Regions from separate parts of the Homo sapiens genome. Here all the other regions are linked to region 2. The links are contacts of gene promoters, found by promoter capture Hi-C in blood cells and fetal thymus (Javierre and others, 2016). All regions are on one chromosome and are shown on one strand. The core of a region is centred on a gene start or on the middle of the fragment in contact, and the rest is flanking DNA. Distances in the headings are between cores, read along the strand shown. Region 1 holds the start of KRTAP19-2 (keratin associated protein 19-2). Region 2 holds the start of KRTAP23-1 (keratin associated protein 23-1). Region 3 holds the start of KRTAP22-2 (keratin associated protein 22-2).

Region 1 (3,025 bases), core at 347-2,846, 140 kb after region 2:
TTGTTGTCACCAAAACGCTGATAGTGACATGGACAATAAAGCCCAAATGAGGTGGTCTCAGATGGAGGTGAGAAACTTATTGGGAACTGGAGAAAAGGTCACACTTACTATGCTTTAGCAAAGAGACTGGCAGCACCGTGCCTGTGCTCTAGGGATCCGTTGAGCTTTGAACTTGAGGGAGACAATTTAGGGTATCTGGCAGAAGAAATTTCTAGGCAGCAAATCATTCAAGATGTAATATGGCTACTTCTAACAGCATACCCTCATATGCTTGAACAAAGAGATTATCTGAAGCTGGAACTTATATTTCCAGAGCATAAAAGGGAAACATAGCATAAAAGTTTGGAAAATTTGCAGCCCAGCCATGTCATAGAAAATGAAATCTCATTGTTTGGGGAGAAATTCAAGCCTGCTGCAGAAATTTGCATAAGTAGAGAGGAGCCAAATGTTAATAGCCAAGACAATGGAAAAATGCCTCCAAGTCATTTCAGAGACCATTGCAGCAGCCCTTTCACCACAGGCCTGGAGGCCTAGGAGGGAAAAATGATTTTGTTGGCCAGGCCCAAGGACCCACTGCTCTGTGCAGCCTTGGGACATGTTGCCCTGAGTCCCAGACACTCAAGCTCCAGCCATCGGTAAAAGGGCTCCAGATACATCTCAGGCTGATGTTCCCAAGTGTGCAAGCGAGGAGCTGCCAAGGTTTTCACATGGTGTTAAGCCTGTGGGTGCACAGAGGGCAAGAGTTGAGGCTTGGGAGCTCCTGCCTAGATTTCAGAGGGAGTAAGAAAATACCTAGATTTCCAGGCAGAAGTCTGCTACAAGTGTGGAGCCCTCATGGAAAACCTCTACTAGGGCAATGTGGAGGGGAAATGTGGGTTTAGAGCCCCCACCCAGAGTCCCTACTGAGACACTGCCTAGTGGAGCTCTGAGAAGAGGGTCACCATCCTCCAGACCCCAGAATGGTAGATCCACAGACAGCTTCCACTGTGTGCCAGGAAAAGCTGCAGATACTCAATGCAAGCCTGTGAAAGCAGCCAGGAGAACTATACCCTGCAGAGCCACAGAAGTGGAGCTGCCCAATGCCCTGGGAGTCTACCCATTGCATCGATGTGGCCTGGGTGTGAGACATGCAGTAAAAGGAGATTATTTTGAAGCTTTAATATTTAATGACTGCCCTGCTGGGTTTTGGACTTGTTTGGGGTCTTATAGCCCCTTTGTTTTGGTCAATTTCTCCCTTTGGAATGGGAGCATTTACACATTTACACCTTTACCCCCATTGTATCTTAGAAGTAAGTAACTTGTTTTTAAATCCCTTCAAAATAACAGATGCTGCATCACTAGAGCAGCAGCTTAGTAGAAGCCAGTGAATCTATATCTTCTGTAGCATGATGGGCAGCAGCAGCCATCTCCACAGCCTCTGTGGCCACAACCATATCTGCATCCTTCATAGCCGCAGCCATAGCCCAGTCTGCAGAAGCTGCCACATCCACAGCCGTAGCCATAGCACATGCCACCAAAGCCTCCACAGCCATAGCCCAGACCTCCACAGTAGCTGCCCTAGTAGCTCACGGTGTCAGAGATAGTGAGTTGGGTTTGCTGTCCCAGGCAAGGTCCTGAGTGTGAATATAGCATGTTTAGGGAACGCTTATATACCCTGAGCAGAACATGTGATAAACATGTGGCCATCCTTTTGCAGCATCCCAATTTATTTATCTACTCTATACAAATAATCAATCTGTTTGTTAGCACAAGGAGAGACACAAACTCATTAAAATCTTTGAGCTGGCTTAGCTGCATGGTTAGAATGCCCTTGAACTTATTACATTTTTTTTTTAAGATGGAGTCTTGCTCTTGTCACCCAGGCTGGAGTGCAATGTTGTGATTTCAGCTCACTATAAACTCCACCTCCTGGGTTCAAGTGATTCTCCTGCCCCAGCCTCCTGAGTAGCTGGGATTACAGGTGTCTGCCACCACTCTCAGCTAATTTTTATATTTTTAGTAGAGACAGGGTTTCACCATGTTGGCCAGGCTGGTCTCGAACTCCTGACTTCAGGTGATCCACACACCTTGGCTTCCCAAAGTGCTGGCATTACAGGCTTGCGCCACTGCGCCCAGCTGATACATTCTTTTTAATGATAAAATAGTCTGCATCTTCAAAGTTACACAATTTTTAAAAAATCCTAAATTCTTCATCACTATGCATATTGAATTATTTGTATTTGACACTGTGTTTTTATTAAATGTTTTCTCATTTCTCATTTTTACACCATTCCTTAGATTGTTCTATTTTACCTCCACCTAGATTCAAATAAATCGATCAAGTTTAAAACTTTTAAATCTAGTAAAGCCTTCAAATATCAAATATTTTTATTGCGTTGAGAAATTAAGGCTATTCCTCCTTCAAAAGAAAAGGAAGTTTTTGAATAAATAAATTTTCTTATCAGCTGTGGTAAACACAAAGTAATGGAAAATATGTATGTAGACATAATATAAAACTACTTTAATTTTCTATATCAGCTTGCAAAACATTGTTTTGGCTTATCAATGTAACAAAATTTATTCCAGAAACTGATATATTATCCAAGAGAATAAACTCAGTTTTACACCAGCCTGAACAGCAGTTCAAAGATATTCTCTTCAGGTGGGGCACAGTGGCTCACCCCTGTAATTCTGGAGGCCAAGGTGAGAAGATCACTTGAGATCAGGTATATTAGTTTGTTTTCACACTGCTGATAAAGACATACCTGAGACTGGGAAGAAAAATAGGTTTAATTGGACTTACAGTTCCACATGGCTCTGGAGGCCTCAGAATCATGGCAGGAGGTGAAAGGTACTTCTTACATGGTGGCGGCAAGAGAAAATGAGAAAGAAGCAAAAGCGGAAACCCCTGATAAACCCATCGGATCTCATGAGACTTACTCACTATCATGAGAATAACAAGGGAAAGACCAGCCCTCATGATTCAATTACTTCCACCTGGATCCCTCCCACAACACATGGGAATTCTGGGAGATACAATTCAAGT
Region 2 (2,891 bases), core at 340-2,839:
AAACAGCTGTGAGAGCAGTGAACGATGAGCTACCCACCTCCATTTAGATATTTGAAAATGTATATGACTGTGTTCCACTTAATGTAAGAATATAATGGACTGTCTAGTTTTGCATCCAGATACAAGCCCAGGATATCAAGAGGTAAAGTCTTATCTCTCAGTCCGTGTCACCTATGCATGATACTGCCAGGTTTCAGACAGTTTTCAGGTGACTTCTATTATAACACCGGATGGCTTTATAGTGACCTAATGAAAGGAGGAGGGAGTGAACCATCAAATTAAAAAAAAAAAAACTCTTAGATATTATATTCTTCTTATTATAGTGGAATGCATACATCTTTAATTTCATGTATACCTAAACTATTTGTTTCATTACACTTGCTACTGAACTCAGTTAAAATCCTGACCTCAGAATTTCATTGTGGCTTATATATGTCTGGGAAGGAAGATTACAGGAAGGATTTTGATAATGTTCTCATAAAAACAGCCAGGCTAGTACTTGCTAAAACATCACTGCTGTCTCTGGATATTTTCTTCCTAGACTAGACCCATGAGTAGCTTAACCAAAGTGAAGTGTCCTGATTAGGCCTAAATGGCCATGAATAGAAAAACAGAGATAATCTCCTGTCCTATCTCTGAGTCTACTTGGCAGAAATTCCCAGGAACTAGATCTCTGTTGTTAGAAAACTCTGCCTATCAAGGAACCTACTCCTTTCCCTCAAAGTGAATATTTTATTTTTAGACAAAAAGTGGGGGTTTCAAATTCCCGACAGACATCTTATAAAGAAAATTAACACAAGATTTGTGATCTGATATCAGATTAAATGAGTTTATTTGAAGAAAAAGAAATCAACTCTTGCTCCATTTTTAACTAGAGAAGGAAGGGAAAATACAAGAAAACAGAAGAAAAAGAGATGAGTATTCTATGAGAAATGTTATTTTAATATTAATAAGTTTAAAACAATTATCTTTTCTGGATAGTAGAATATAGGTTCTAGCCAGATGATAGCTGAGATGGACTTTGAGAGAAATAATTGTAATGTGGAGGTTTGGAGCCCTTAGCAAGTTGATCGGTAGAAGCCAGATCCACAAGTTGGTCTGTAACAGGAAGACTGGAATGTCCTAAAGAGAACATATGTTGGGTGGCAGAATCCAGATCCATAGCCCAGGGAAGGGAAGCCACAGCCTCCATAACCCAGGGATCTGACGCCACTGGACCCACGGCCCACTGAGTAGCAGCTCCTAGATCCATAGCCCAGGGAGCGGCAGCTGCTGGATCCAAAGCCTAGAGACTCAGAGTAAGTCGACTGGCAGGGACTGCAGAGCACGGAGCTTCTGGGGCGGTAGCAGGAGGTCTGGCAGGGGCTGGACTCCACACAGGACATCTGGCAGCTAGGGGTTTCCCAGCAAGTCTCCTGAAAGCCCTTGCAGAGAGAGGAACCCAGCTGGCAGGTGCTGGGAGATCAAAGGTTCAGTGCTGTAGACCAGGTTGCTGGGGTACGAGGAGCCACCACGGGAGTAGCCTGAGTAGCACAGGTAGCCCTCACAGGAATGGGAGGAGAAGTTTCCACAGCAGCAGTTGTAGGACATGTTGACAGGAGATGTGAGTTCAGCTGAGCTGCATTGAGAAGATGCCCTGATGTCCCTGCCTGTGCCCAATGATCCAGTGATGTTTACACCCTCACACTGCTGGGCGTGATGCAGTATCCGGGAACCCCCCCATTCTTGTGAATGTGTTTTCATCAAATGACTAAGTAACCTAGGTTATAATTATAACTCAACACATTCATTTGTCTTTAACAGCAGTGTAATCATTCCAGTTTATAGAAGCCCATTGGCTTCTCTCTCTCTCTCTCTCTGTCTCTTTCTCTCTCTCTCTCTCTCTCTCTCTCTCTGCAGAAATAAGGTTTGGTTTGCTTTCAGAAACATTGGTGATGATACATACAGTGCCTCCCCACCCCTTTTACTGAGCTTGACTGTGGGTATTCTGAGCTTCAGCCTACAAATTCTTACCAGCAATGTACTCCCAACAGTAATCAGCAGCCACCCACCCCCCATTATTTACATATGTTTTATTAAGCATTAACTACATGCGCAACATTTAAAAGTGTGGTATGATTTAATCTTTGCAAATATCTTATGAGATACAAGTTGTCATAAACAATTTAGAAGTAAGGCCATGGAGGTTTGGAAAAGTTATGTAACATTCAGGTAATAAATCAAACAAATCATGGACCCCATGTCATCCCAGGTGTGTCTGTCTTTAAGGCTAGCACAAACCACAGAGCTATATAGACAATTTGTGAAGCTTGTAATTTCTGCTCCCAGAATCACATGGACAATTGAGTATGCAGGTGAAAAAAAAATTCCAAGGTGTTAATATTTGCATTTCATCTGATATATCTACTTGAGTATTCTTACCCCTTTTATGAATTCCCCAAATATAGCCAACTGAGGGGACAGCTTCTTAATTGATTTTGGTTATTTTTTTAGTATTCAGAGTTACTATGGAGATGCTTTGTTACAAATTATCTTCTATTTGCCCTCTCACTCAGTTTATCCTAGTTAAGCAACTCATGTTTTATCCACCATGGAGTTATTAGATTCTTTTTCAGTGTGAGGCAGAAAATTCTTTGGCAAACACAGACTTTCACTGGGACTAGTTGCGAAAAACTGATATGCCTTTAGTGAGTTGACTACCAATAAAATACATTTGCAGAAGCTTGAATTTTAATAGGGTGCCGACCTTTTGCCAACTCAGTTGGGAGTGAGAAATACGACACCTTCCAGAGTGATTCATTTCACTCCTTGCTGAGCTTCTCTTGTTCATCCTTCTAGGAAGACAAAGCAGCATAAAATTTACCATTATATTAAGTGGTTAAAATTATCTT
Region 3 (3,056 bases), core at 441-2,940, 240 kb after region 2:
AGAATCTTTCAGCTTTACCTTTCTAAAAGTTGATTTAATTTGGCATGACTGCAATAGAAATTAAAATGTTTAACCTTTAAATTTGTTAATCCATTAAATGGGATAATTTATGCAAATAATGAGCAGAGCCCCAACCTATATCTTAGTAAAAATGGAATCACTTCCCTCTTATTTTCATTTTTCACCAGAGGAATGATCACCAACTTCTCTGCCCAGTCACTGGTTGGGCAAGTTGGGTTGGAACTGCTAATGGATTGACTTTTTCACTCCAGGGAGGAAGGAATAGACAGCAATACAGTATTTTCACTTCCGTTTGCTTTCAGAAAGCCTGCACTTGGGGGCTGGGAGATACTTCACTAGTCTCATATTGATCTATAAAGTGTGATCCCTACGTTGATCGTTGGTAGTTCTGCTACATTTAAGAGTAGCAAATGAATTAATATGTACTATTATCTGTTTATATTTTATTCTGATTGCTTTATCATAATTAATGACTAATCATTAATAATATTTAATAAGTGGATGGAATAAACATGATAAATTATCACAGGGAGTTTCATAGAAAGTCAGCTCTCATAATTAAGACCTATCACCAGAATGCATTTGGGCCAGAAATGTGGTTTGCAAGATGTTATTCTATCCAAGTCACCACTTTAAAAAATAGTAACAGGAATTCTGCTAGAAGATGATCAGAGTTAGAAAAACTCAAAAGAGTCACTTAGATCTCTAAATGAGGTGATCTTTGCTGTGGAAACACAGGATTATCAGGCATACCAACCAGCTTCATATAGAGGATTCTTATCTATAAGAGTGAGTGAAAAGAGGTCAGAGTACTCAATGCAGGGCTGGAGTTGTATCAGTACAGAAGCACATGTTTAAATGTAGACTATTAGGAGAGAGAAAATTGCAGTAGAAAATAGCTTGGTGGGTAATAGTGCTACTGGTTTTGCCAATTACCTAGGTCAAACATTGAATTTTTCTAAAATGAAACTTGCATTAGATCAATATAGAGAACAGTATTCTTGAAACTGAACTTGAAATTACTTTTATACAAACATTTTTGGAAAAACATCAGTCATGAGTTGCCTGTTTTGTCACATCACTGACTAAAATAGCCACAGGTAGCAATTTCACTCTCTCTTTCTATTTCTCCCTTTCTCTCTCTCTCTCTCTTTCACACACACACACACACACACACACACACACAAATACACAAATGATAAAGAGAAATGAATATATATGATAAGCAATACATATTGTGAAAGTGATTATATTTATTAAAATGCAAATTTATAAGTTTTCCTGCATGGAAATTGTTAATATTATAACAGACATAAACACATAAAACTAACAAAATATCAAAGGATTTTCCCACTAACTGGTAGGAAATTCCACTAATCCAATGCAAATATGACCTGTGGTAATCAATAATTAGAGTTAGTTAAAATTGGAGAGACAATAACGAATCCATAAATAACCCTGTTGATGCAATTAGTGCATCACAAGAAAATGGCTCAAAGTGATCAGCAATCAGAATTTCTTTCTAGGAGCCAATAGGAATCTTCCATAGGAGCACGGAAAGTTGCAGGCATATCCAGAGTTACCATATTCAGAGCCATAGCTGCAACCATAGTCCAGGCTACCATAATAGTTGTGGTAGTAGCACATGGTGTCAGAAGATGGAGTTCAATTGAGGCAGATAGTAGTTTCTGAAATTTGACTCTCCTGATTTGTACAAATTATTTTATCCAACCTGAGTTATATGTGAAGGAAACCACAATCTACATTGGACTCATTCTCACAACTAATTTGCATTAAGATTAAAAAAACCCTCAAGAATCTCTTAGCCATATGTCCAGGAAAATATTAATATTGCTATGTGTCAGGATGCCAACAAGTAAAATCATGAGCCTTAAGGAGATATTCTCTTAATTTTGTGGCTTTTGCTTACTTAAAATCCCAATTTAAACTTGATGATTAGCTTCTCTGTGATCACATTAAGCTTATATTTCCTGCCTCTTGAAACATTTCTTTTTTCTTTTTCAATATCCTCCTCTACCTCCATAAATGCAGTCCTTAAACCACAGAGTGGCCAGGAATGGTTAGGGAAGGTTGGCTATGCAGTGAGGAAGCCGATGAAAATGTCTTTATTTACTTGCAAATATGCCTGTATGTTTTGACTAATTTATTTCTTAATCAATGGGACTAAAAATTTTCTTCCAAGTTCATATGTAGCTTATGTTCTTGGAGTAGTAAAGTTTTTTCTCTTCCATCATCCTCACTTTGGTTATATTATTAGTTGTGGTGTTCTCTTTGCATCTGAGAAAGCAATTAGAAACAATTACCCACCGTATCTCAAAATTCATGTTTTCCTCTCCTGACACATAATATTCACATATTTTACCTTCTTTTTATATTTAATGAATTTGCTTATTTTAAAATATATTAATTCCAAATTTCCAAAAGTATTGTAAAAATACTTTTCATCTTCTAGCAGAATTCCTGTTACTATTTTTTAAAGTGGTGACTTGGATAGAATAACATCAGCAAACCACATTTCTGGCCCAAATGCATTCTGGTGATAGCCTTAATTATGAGAGCTGACTTTCTATGAAGCTCCCTGTGATAATTTGTCACGTTTATTCCATCCACTTATTAAATATTATTAATGAATTATTAGTCATTTATTATGATAAAGCAATTAGAATAAAATATAAACAAATAATAGTACATATTAATTCATTTGCTACTCTTAAATGTAGCAGAACTACCAATGATCAACCTAGGGATCATACTTTGTAGATCAATGTGAGACTGGCAAAGTATCATATCAATAAGAGGCAAGTAGAACATTTAGTCAGAATTTCGGAACTGCACACAGTAGTTCATAAACTTTAGTGGATATATACCACCACCTTAACAATCGGAAAAGGCATGGATTCTCAAACCAGAAAAAAATCACCATGATAAATTCCTCCACTGGTTTGCATATGATCCAAAAGGATCCCAGAGTACATGAATTTATCCCCAGTTACCCCAAGCATAGAACAAAGATT

Evidence for each region. Contacts are between HindIII fragments. The CHiCAGO score rates a contact against its expected background, and 5 or more counts as called.
Region 1: a contact is called between the fragment with the promoter of KRTAP19-2 here and the fragment with the promoter of KRTAP23-1 in region 2, in 2 of 17 cell types (total B cells and naive B cells). The highest score is 5.5, in total B cells.
Region 3: the fragment with the promoter of KRTAP22-2 here is called in contact with the fragment with the promoter of KRTAP23-1 in region 2 in 7 of 17 cell types (naive CD8 T cells, total B cells, M2 macrophages and 4 more); the score reaches 7.4 in naive CD8 T cells.

Annotation. Positions count from the first base shown.
Region 1 is chr21:30,485,840-30,488,864 of GRCh38, forward strand. KRTAP19-2 (keratin associated protein 19-2) reads right to left here and starts at 1,597. Exons shown (of 1, transcript NM_181608.2): 1 at 1,204-1,597. The coding sequence starts at 1,509. The coding sequence ends at 1,351. The HindIII fragment of the contact is 2,321 bases long and covers 1,153-3,025 here.
Region 2 is chr21:30,347,017-30,349,907 of GRCh38, forward strand. KRTAP23-1 (keratin associated protein 23-1) reads right to left here and starts at 1,590. Exons shown (of 1, transcript NM_181624.1): 1 at 1,383-1,590. The coding sequence starts at 1,590. The coding sequence ends at 1,393. The HindIII fragment of the contact is 4,066 bases long and covers 1-2,306 here.
Region 3 is chr21:30,588,707-30,591,762 of GRCh38, forward strand. KRTAP22-2 (keratin associated protein 22-2) reads right to left here and starts at 1,691. Exons shown (of 1, transcript NM_001164434.1): 1 at 1,399-1,691. The coding sequence starts at 1,668. The coding sequence ends at 1,531. The HindIII fragment of the contact is 4,540 bases long and covers 1-2,000 here.